Linked DNA regions of Homo sapiens: regions 1 and 3 are each linked to region 2. Evidence: promoter capture Hi-C in 16 types of primary human blood cells and fetal thymus (Javierre and others, 2016). All regions are on one chromosome and are shown on one strand. Each heading gives the region's core, a stretch centred on a gene start or on the middle of the fragment in contact. The rest is flanking DNA. Distances are from core to core; before and after follow the strand shown.

What was found. The method cuts DNA at HindIII sites, captures the fragments that hold promoters and counts their contacts. A CHiCAGO score of 5 or more calls a contact.
Region 1: the fragment with the promoter of SPMIP4 here is called in contact with the fragment with the promoter of KLHL7 in region 2 in 5 of 17 cell types (naive CD8 T cells, activated CD4 T cells, total CD8 T cells and 2 more); the score reaches 12.7 in naive CD8 T cells.
Region 3: a contact is called between the fragment with the promoter of CYCS here and the fragment with the promoter of KLHL7 in region 2, in 1 of 17 cell types (activated CD4 T cells). The highest score is 5.7, in activated CD4 T cells.

What each region holds. Positions count from the first base shown.
Region 1 is chr7:25,178,629-25,182,192 of GRCh38, reverse strand. SPMIP4 (sperm microtubule inner protein 4) reads left to right here and starts at 1,839. Exons shown (of 10, transcript NM_138811.4): 1 at 1,839-2,531; 2 at 2,861-3,018. The coding sequence starts at 2,885. All of the region lies in intron 1 of LOC124901603 (a long non-coding RNA gene), which reads right to left. RefSeq lists silencers at 1,604-1,993, 2,054-2,333. The HindIII fragment of the contact is 8,567 bases long and covers 1-3,564 here.
Region 2 is chr7:23,104,019-23,107,330 of GRCh38, reverse strand. KLHL7 (kelch like family member 7) reads right to left here and starts at 1,546. Exons shown (of 11, transcript NM_001031710.3): 1 at 1,185-1,546. The coding sequence starts at 1,304. It overlaps KLHL7-DT (KLHL7 divergent transcript), which reads left to right and starts at 1,628. Exons shown (of 3, transcript NR_046220.1): 1 at 1,628-1,772; 2 at 3,014-3,081. RefSeq lists enhancers at 600-679, 385-1,371, 1,160-1,439, 1,560-1,749, 1,372-2,358. The HindIII fragment of the contact is 5,093 bases long and covers 417-3,312 here.
Region 3 is chr7:25,124,010-25,127,389 of GRCh38, reverse strand. CYCS (cytochrome c, somatic) reads left to right here and starts at 2,130. Exons shown (of 3, transcript NM_018947.6): 1 at 2,130-2,190; 2 at 3,263-3,380. The coding sequence starts at 3,271. It also overlaps a transcript of SPMIP4 not described here. RefSeq lists enhancers at 1,720-1,969, 2,117-2,660, 2,661-3,205. The HindIII fragment of the contact is 6,168 bases long and covers 1-2,522 here.

The DNA of each region.
Region 1 (3,564 bases), core at 590-3,089, 2.1 Mb before region 2:
CAGGATCTATTCCTCTAGGCTTAGTGGGTGGTAACTACTGGAAGGTCGGCAGAGGTGCAGGAACTAAGAAATAAACCAAGACTACAAAATTACCACTGTGCCTACTTCAATACACCTTTCTTCCCCCACTCCAGGTAACACTCACATAGAAGGCACAGCACAAAATGAATGCCCACTGGTTGGTTAGTAGAAAGTTGTAAAGTAGGCAGAGAATAGCAAAGGCACCATCATACTGTTACCAAGCAAAGGAGGCTCGCTGCCCGAGGCACTAGAAGTCAATACTATAACACTGGGTTTTTGATAAAATAAAAACTTTTATTGCATGTCAACCAACAAAGAAATAGGAAGTCCAGCTCAAATCTGTCTCCCTGTGCTGGCTTTAGGACAATTATTTTATTAGAAATGGTTTTGAGTGTGGATTCTGGGATTAGCAGGTGCTTGGTGGAAGGAAAGAGGAAGTCTGGAAAGTCCTTGCGCATGTGCTCTTATTTCTTCATGCTACCTAAGGGTTCCACGTGCAAATTCAGTGAGGAGTTAGTATGAAACATGGCAGTAGAAATTCAGCTGTAAGGTCAGCAAGCTGGATCTGTGCAGACTCTAGTTGGCCTTATATGTTCCAGTGGATTTCAGCCAGTTTTATTAACCTACAAGCCCAGGCATTTCAGCATTTCAGCAATTTGTTTCTTTTATCTGCCATCCTGTAAACTCAAGAATTTCTATGACTGTTTTCTTTAACTCTTTGGCACACAGTTTCAACGCCCTTCTTCTCAGAGGTGGTCATTCTCACCCTCACCTTCTGGTTCCTGCAGGCTCATTTCTAGCCTCCCACACTGTATTAGTCTTTTCTCACAATGCTGTAAAGAACTGCCCAAGACTGGGTAATTTATAAACGAAGGAGGTTTAGTTGACTCACAATCTCACATGGCTGCGGAGGCCTCAGGAAACTTACAATCATGGCAGAAGGCCACGGAGAAGCAGTTACCTTCTCCACAAGGGGGCAGGAAGGAAAAGTGCTGGGAGAAGGGAGAAGAGCCTCTTATAAAACCATCAGATCTCGTGAGAATTCACTCGCTATTACGAGAACAGCATGGGGGAAACTGCCCCCATGATCCAATTACTTCCACCTGGTCTCTCCTTTGACAAGCGGGGATTATGGGTATTACAATTCAAGATGAGATTTGAGTGGGGACACAAAGCCTAACCATATCACACATATACACACAACCTAACCTCCTCACATCCCATTCCTTGATGGGGTGGCAGGTGGCGAGGGGGGGGTGACATCCCTTATTGTCAGCCATCACAGGAACTCATGACCCTGTAGGTGCAGATTCATGGCTCACATTTGTATCTTTTGGGGAAAACTGAGGTAATCAAGGTGGGGCTAGGCCCTGGGGACGAGGCAAGTAAAGGACTTTGCCATGTCCGCACCCACCAGGGAAGGAGCAGAGACTCTGTTAGGGCGCCATGCCAGGGGCTGCAGTTTCAGAATCCTGCAGACTCCACCCTCTATCTGGCCACACTGTCCCCAATTTTTGCGAGGTGACCTGGGGAGGGAGGACAGGTCGGATGCTCCGACCTCACCAGGGACTCCACTGGACCGGAGCTCTTCCTCCTCCGCCCAGTCCACATGAGAGAGCTCCCTGGCCGGCCCTGAGACAGCTCCAGACCTGGTAGCCCTGGAAAAAGAAACTGGTATCGCCATCGCCGCCGCCGCTAGAGGGCGCCTGGGGGCGGGGCGCGGGTGGGGCAAGGCGGGGTCCGACTGGAGGCAGGGCGGTGAGCCGAGAGGGGCGGGGCAAGGGACCGGGAGGCGGGGCCAGGGGTCGCAAGGCGGAAGAGCCCCTCTCGCCTCCGACCCGGCGCCTCGCACTCCGTTCACTCTCGGTTCCTCTTCGCATTCTTGCCAGTCCCGTAGCGCTGGGCTGGTTTCCTCCGAGGTCTCTAAGAGCCTCCTACTGCGCCCCGCTCGCCGCCCGGAAGCCCCCAGCCCCTCAAGGACGCATCACCTAATGCCGCGGTCACGGCCACCGTCACAAGCGCCCCCAGCCCCACCCCACCCCGGCCTGCCCGCCGTCCTTCTCCCGCCCCCGCCCCTGCCTGCCAGCTCCACCGGGCCGTAGGTGCGGACGACCTCAAAATTCCTCGGCCCGCGAAGGCCGCCAGCTGCGGGGAGGGGAGGGGAGGCGCGGTCCCGCAGCGCCCCCAGGCTCATGTCCCAGGTATGTCCAGACCCCCGAGGCACCGCTTGCAGGGCAGTGACAGCCCGTGAGGCTCGGCCTCGACCCCTGGCACCCTTGGTCCCAGCTACGCCGGCTCCTGGCCTTCCCCCAAGTCCGAGAGAGAGGTGGGATTCTCCCCGACGCAGTTGGAAACCGGGAATCCCCTTTAGGGTCCCGTTCGTGCTGCACTACTGACTCCACCATCTGCAAAGGGATTCTTGTCCAGAATCCCCGAAGGCTTTAGGACAGCGCTTATTTTGTTGAATGAAGAGTCTCTAATTTTCGGAAAGACCACAGGCTAAAAGTCAAGTGAGTTTTCTTGAATAGTTATAGTTAAATTTAAGGCAGGAATTGAATGTCAGTTGATGGCCACAAAGTAGCGGACTGGTACGAACCTACTGGATGATCATTCTGGTGACTACTTGGAGGCACCGTCCACTTTGTGGATTTGTTTCAGTTGAAATTTATTTCCATAGAACTTATTTAGGTCTCTATTTATTACTGATTTGACGGCTTTCAGTGCAGAGGGAAGCCTGTGACGTCTGTGCAGCGTCAGGTTGAACAATTTAGCAGTGTAAAATGTGTTTTCTGCCTGCCTTGACTCGACAAGCCAAATGTGCCCTCCTTTTCTTTTCCAGGTTGTGCCTTTTTAGCCAAGAAGCATGGAAGTCATTCACGGCAGGCCCTACTGTTGCAGGGAGCTTGAAGGAGCTGACATACTGTCCAACACCTTTTACTCTAATGAATTGCACAACCCCCTCCAGACGGTTACTCGCCCAACTGCCTCAGAGGACAGGTAAAACAAAAACTAGAAAAAGCAAACAAGAAAAAGCAGTTTTAATGTATTCGTGTATTTTATTATGTGAGGAAAAACATTTATTGTTCTGGGGCTCTTCTGTTTCTTGTTTGTTTGTTTGTTTGTTTGTTTTTGAGACGGTGTCTCGCTCTGTCGCCCAGGCTGGAGTGTAGTGGTGCGATCTCGGCTCACTGGGACCTCTGCCTCCCAGGTTCAGGTGATTCTCCTGCCTCACCCTCCAGAGTAGCTGGGATTACAGGCATGCACCACCATGCCCAGCTAATATTTTTGCATTTTTAGTAGAGACAGGGTTTCACTATGTTGGCCAGGCTGTTCTCAAACTCCTGACCTCAAATGATCCACCCACCTCGGCCTCCCAAAGTGCTGGGATTACAGGCGTGACCACTGCGCCGGGCCGGGGCTCTTCTGCTTATCATATAATAGGGAAGGCAAAACGTGGCAATTATCTGAACCTTCAAGTGTCTGTAAGGAACTCGAGAAGTAAGTGGCTGTCTACTATAAAAGCCACACATCAAATTCATCCAC
Region 2 (3,312 bases), core at 297-2,796:
TACAAAAAGGTTTACATGAAAGGAACATGAATTTGAAAATAGATACATGAAAGTCAGTTACATAAATTAACGAATTCAGGCATTCACAGTACTTCAGCACAAAGGCCAGGCCAGGAAAGATTTAAAAGCATTCCCACAGACTGCACTGGTGCACTGTAGCAGGAGCTGGTGAACAAAGACAAAATCCCAGCAGTCAGCGTTTGCTTATAGAAACCAGAAGTTAATATCTTCATAAAAATCTTAAATTCCTCTACTGTTGCCCATATTCCCAGCAGAACCACCAGACAAAGCAAACTAGGTTTTGCAGTTACACATAACTCACATCCTGCTTTGTCCCCTTGAAACAGGATCCCAGTCAACAAAACCCAAACATTCCCACAAATCTACTTAGATGTGTATTATCTATAAATAAAGCTTACAGAAAGGAAAAAGTGACTTTCTATGCTTATCGGTGTAGATGTTATGGAATTAAAAAAAAAAAAAGCCTCTTTGTTTCACCTTCGCCAGCGTTAAAATCCGTTCTTTTCATAACCCACCTTTCGCCGATGTGCTGCAGAATTTCACGAATGCACCACACACCAAGGACAGAACAAAGAGCTCCTCTTAATAACAGAGGCGCACAGTGCCCTTAGAAGATGGCATGGTATTTATCGATGGCTGCTTCTGCTCTAAATTAGCACGAACAGGAGGACTCCTCTTCAACTAGCTCCACCGGGGAACACAGGAGGGGGCGGGGATCCTTATTTAAGAGCAGCTGATGTCAGGCCAGCAACTCTCCTCCCTTTGGGGGCTTCGGTTTGGGCTATGCCAACGGGTTTCTTCACACAAGATCTCACGGCACCTTAAAACGGCTCGCCAATGGAAGGATCCTCGCCCCACAAAGAGATAACTAGGGCAGAGCTGTTACACAACCGATACCCGACGGCGAAAGCCAGCCTGAGGAGTCCCCCAGGAGTCTGACTTGGGAGCTACATCCTCGGCAGACGAGAAGCACTTTTGCTCGAGAATTGTTTTACGCGCCCCTCTACCAACTGCGGAATCGCTCGCCTGCGAAAACGGAAGGAGGGGCGAGGACAGAGAAAGAGGGGCGCGATCCACAGGGCGCGGGGTTCCACCCCGGGAACCAGGGGCCCGAGCCCCGGACCACCTCCCACCGTCGTCCGTCACTCCCACAGAGGCGGTACCTGTTTCCGCATGTTATTCATGACGCCCATGAAACCCGCCAACAATTTAGCTTCTTCCCGAGCAGCAAGTTTCTTCTCGGTCTTCTTCTTGCTGCTCTTCTCCACCCCAGAGGCTGCCATCCTCCCTCAGCTCGGTTCACGCCCGGGGCTCGCCGGGCCGGGCGAGGGGTCGCACTCTCTGGGCACACTGGGGATTCTATCGACCAAACACGGCGATCGGCAGTGCAGCTGCAGCGCCCAGCTCTGGAACGCGCGGCAGGCGGCGGTGGCTCGGCCACTGCCGAAAGACAAGGCCGGGCGGCCCCCTTAGAAACGCTCAGGGAGCGACGCTACCAACTGGGCTGCGTCCCCGGGCAGAACCCGAGCCCTGCCCAGGAGCCTGCGCACTTCGCGCAAGGAGGCGGGGGCACTATGAGGAGAGTCAGGGGCGGGGCCTGACACGTCACAGTGGCGCGCCGTTCCGAGCAATGAGACTGCAGGCACAGGTGCGGCCGGATTCCCTGTCGCTGTCCCGCGCTGAGTGAATTTTGCCTCGGAGCTGGTCCGAGGTCGCGCCTGCTCTTTTGTGTGCCCAAGGCAGATTTCCAGGTTTCGGTTACGTGATTATCTTTTTTTTTTTTTTTTTTTTGATAATTGGGTTGTGGAACATGCAAAGGTGTCTCCCATCAGTGTAAGGCTTCATGGGACAGGGTCGGTGTTCAGTGCAGTATCTGAGCCTGGTGTATGGTAGGCGCTCAATAAATATTAAATGATGAAAGGATATTACTGCAAGTTAAAGTCATGTTACACGGAGCACAAGATTTATTTTCGTGGGATTCATAACGCAAGAGCACACAGTCCCGTTGGTGTCTCCTTGGCGTGCAATGAATGTCTGCCTAACTAGGCTGGCTTACTGTGTGTTTACAACTGAAATCAGTTGTCAGTCGGTTCTAGAAATCTTCAGTTAGGCTTCTCTAAGTGTTTTACGGGAACACGGAACTCAATCACAGCCCTCATGGAAATGTTTTTTGTAACCATATTCTTTCTACTGTATAGTAATATACAGGATTATTTGAAATTGTACATTATTTAACATTATGAAAACTTTATATCTCATTGGTTTTCCTCCTCGGTCTATATAGGACTATACAGAGACATTTTATGTAAAATAATTTACACCATTGAGGCTTTTTTTTTTTTTTTTGGAGGCAGGGTCTCGGCCCTGTCGCCCAGGCTGGGGGTGCGGTGCAGTGGCTAATCATAGCTCACTGAAGCCTCAGCACTCCTGGGCTCAAGCAATCCTCCCATCTCAGCCTCCCAAGTAGCTGAAACTACAGGCGTGCAACACCACTCTGGGCTAAGTTTTAATTTTTAAATTTTTTTGGTGGTGGTGGTGGTGGTGGTGGTGGTGGTGAAGAGGTCACACTATGTTGCCCAGGCTTGTCTCGAACTCCTGGTGTTATGCAATCCTCCCGCCTAGGCCTCCCAAAGTGCTGGGATTACAGGAATGAGCGGCCAGGCCTGGCCCACAGTATACTTTTCTTGTTGAGGACAAACCATATAGCATAATCCAGATGAAAGAGCAAGCTATATATACGCCTCAATTTTTACAAAAGAGTAAGATACTTATGTCTCTGTACTCTTTATCTTTCTTCTATTAATCTAGAGGTTCTCAGATGTGCCTCTATTTTAACTAGTTGATTTGGGGATTTCAGGTGAACCCTGGCAATAGGAATAATTTATTGTTAATAAAATTATAAATGAGAAAATTTTTCATTCACTTTATTAAATGACCCAGGACACTGAAGAAAAACGGAATAAATTTTTTTCTTTTTTTTTTAATTGAAAAGAAGTAGAAATCTGTCTTCTAACTCTAAGGCCTTGGGAGATGAAGGATCCGTGATTCAAAGGCAGAAATGTAAGTGATGAAAAAGAATGCTGTCCTGTAATAAGGCAAAAAAGAAACGAGGAACAGCATCCTTAGTCCTTGATGTTAGAACAGTCTTTTTACATATTGCTGAATATAAAACATCAAAGTTCATGGAAGAGCCATAGGATTCAGAGCTCAAAGAGGCCACAGAGATTATATAGTACAGGGATTAAGCATGAGACTTTGCCTGGATGCAAAGTCAAACATCTCAACTTTCTA
Region 3 (3,380 bases), core at 881-3,380, 2.0 Mb before region 2:
AAGAAAAAAGAATAAAAATGAATGAGGTACACCTATAAGATCTAGAAACTGGCTTCAAAGGGCAAATCTAAGAGTTACTGGCCATAAAGAGGAGCTAGAGAGAGAGATCAGGGTAGAAAGTTTATTCAGCGAGATAATGACAGAGAACTTCCCAAACCTAGAGAAAGATATCAATATTCAAGTACAAGAAGGTTATAAAACACCAAGCAGATTTAACCCAACGAAGACACCCCAAAACATTTAATAATCAAACTCCCAAAGATCCAGGATAAAGAAAGAATCCTAAAAGCAAGCAAGAGAAAAGAAACAAATAACATAAAAAGGAGTTCTAATAAGTCTGGCAGCAAACTTATCAGTGGAACTTTACAGGCCGGGAGGGAGTGGCATTACATATTTAAAGTGCTGAGGGAAAAAACTTTTATCCTAGAATAGTACATCCAGTGAAAATATCCTTCAGATGTGAGGGAGAAATAAAGACTTTCCCAGGCAAACAGAAGCTGAGGGATTTCATCAACACCAGACCTGTCCTACAAGAAATGCTAAAGGGAGTTCCTCAGTCTGAAAGAAAAGGACATTCGTAAGCAATAAGAAACCACCTGAAGGTACAAAACTCACTACTAATAGTAAGTACACAGAAAAACACACAATATTATAATACTGTAATTGTGTGTAAACTGTTCATATCTTGAGTAGAAAGACTTAGAGATTAACCTAACTTATCAAAAATAATAGCTATAACAACTTTTCAAGACATAGTATAATAATATATAAATAGAAACAAGAAAAAGTTTTAAAAGTGGGGAGAGTGAAGTTAAAGTGCAGAGTTTTTCTTAGTTTTCTCTTTGATTTTTGTTTATGCAATCAATGTTATGTTGTCATCAGTTTAAAACAATGGGTTATAAAATATTATTTGCCCTGGGCGTGGTGGCTCACACCTGTAATCCCAGCACTTTGGGAGGCCGATGCGGGTGAATCACCTGAGGTCAGGAGTTCGAGACCAGCCTGACCAAATAGTGAAACCCCATCTCTACTAAAAATACAAAAATTAGCTGGGCGTGGTGGTTTGCTCCCGTAGTCCCAGCTACTTGGGGGGCTGAGACATTAAATGGCGCCACTGAAGAAGAATGAATAAGGTCTAGTAATACAACAGGGTGACTACACTCAACAATAATTTATTGTACATTAAACAAACTAAAAGTATAATTGGATTGCTTGTAACAGAAAAAAAGGATAAATGCTTGAGGTGATGGATAGACCGTTTACCCTGATGTGATTATTATACATTGTATGCCTGTATCAAAATATCTCATGTACCTCTTAAGTATATATATATATTTACCTACTTCGTACTCATAAAAATTTTAAAAGGTACATAAATGTTATCATTGCATCCTCTTAATTTTATTTTTCAGTTCCAGAGGGATAATCCTGTCTCTGCCGCAAATGCAGCACCTTCCTCAGTCTTGGGGCGTCCATCAAGCGGAGAGCTGGAATGTGACTGAAAGTAACAGAGTATAGGTGGAACTAGAACAAGGTCACGAGCTGGTGCCCAACTCGTGTAACTCCTGGTTCCAGGCTGTCCCTCTAGGATGCTGTTGGCGCCAGCCGTGGTAGTAGGACAGAGTCTGGGTAAAGGTCGCCTGCTGACAAGATGGTAGCTAGGAGACCTCTAGGTGCGCCAAAATTAGGGCGTCTTTTCCTGGACCGGCAAAACGCCCTGCTCAAAGCTCATTACATCACCACGCCCAAGAACTGATACTTTAGCAGGGCAACGCACCAACCAAGCGACTCCGCCCCACCCTCCCCGCTCCTCCAGCACACGCAAGCGCACAGAGGCCCGCGAGTGACGTCACCTCTCCCGACACCACCTCGTTGTCGTACGACCAAAGGCCTGTCGTAACGGCCGGGAAAAGCCTCGAGAAGAAGGGCACGCACGCCGTACACCCTAACATGCTCGCCAGCATGCGCGCGCAGGTCCTTGGCGCAGGCATTGGGACTGGAGCCAATGAGGTGCGGCGACGTTACTGCGTAGCCGCCAGCTCGGCCGCACGTCAGGGCGCGGGAGCGCGGAGCGAGTTTGGTTGCACTTACACCGGTACTTAAGCGCGGACCGGCGTGTCCTTGGACTTAGAGAGTGGGGACGTCCGGCTTCGGAGCGGGAGTGTTCGTTGTGCCAGCGACTAAAAAGAGGTGAGAGCGGGTCGCGGAGGCCGCACCTGGTTAGAGGCAGAGCTGTGGGAGGCGCGCACTTGCGAGCGACCGAAACCCAAGCGGGGAGCATTCGAGTGGAGCCCGCGCTGGGTGGGAGGGCGGGGAGTGAAGACCCTGGACTGTGGTCAGACCGAGCTGGGCGAGTAACGGCTTGAGGTGCGGCGGAGCCCTAACTAGGGACAGGTATGGTCTCGGTCAGGGACTGGAGGCGGCTTGGATACAGATCCGAGGAGGAGGCGGCCTCTTCCGTAGTGGTTGCTGAAGGGCTATGGAAATGATAGGCAAGACTTCCCTCCTGGAAAGCCGAAGCTTAGAGCTTCACGTTCTTCTTCAGAGGGCAAAAGCTGTTGCTCTTCTAATAAGGGGCCAGTTCTTTTCGTGGGCACATGTTTCTTCCGTCAGTCGTTCTGACATCCTAGAAGGAGTTTCATCAATCACCTTGAAACCGACCTGGACGGGTGACCTCGTGGTCGCCCCAGGAGATCACAGGTAGGGGAGTTGGGATGTCCCCGGGGGACCGTGCAGCCTGCCCCTGAGCTCCCATTCACAAGTTCGAGTGTCAAGCTACTCCTGTGACCTGGGCAGATAGAAACAGCCAGGACCGCTTTTTAAACATTTGTGTGCTTTGCGTTATCCTCAGGGAGAGGTGGCTTTACATTGTAGTAAGATTAAATGGTTAGGTCTTTTTAAAAGTTGCGGTTGTGGTGATTTTGGCTTAATGTGTTCGCCCTTGAGCTTCAGATCTGTGACTTCGTGACCATGATTGTCTCTTCTGAAACTGGAGTTTGAATTAGGTTCCCTCTTTGCTTGGGCTTTAACGTTCCTTCACGTATACACACAAAAATACGTTTTTGAGGAGGTACTCCTAAAAATGTTTTTGGTATTAAAGAATATTTGGTATAAAGAGTATTAAAGCAAAACAAGATTCATTCTGGTATTTAATGACATAAATTAGCAATGGATTGGTAATTAAGTGGCTAGAGTGGTCATTCATTTACACTGTATTTGTTACCTGAGGAAAAATTTACTAAGTTGAAGCTTTCGTTTTTAGAATTAAATATGGGTGATGTTGAGAAAGGCAAGAAGATTTTTATTATGAAGTGTTCCCAGTGCCACACCGTTGAAAAGGGAGGCAAGCACAAGACTGGGCCAAATCTCCATGGTCTCTT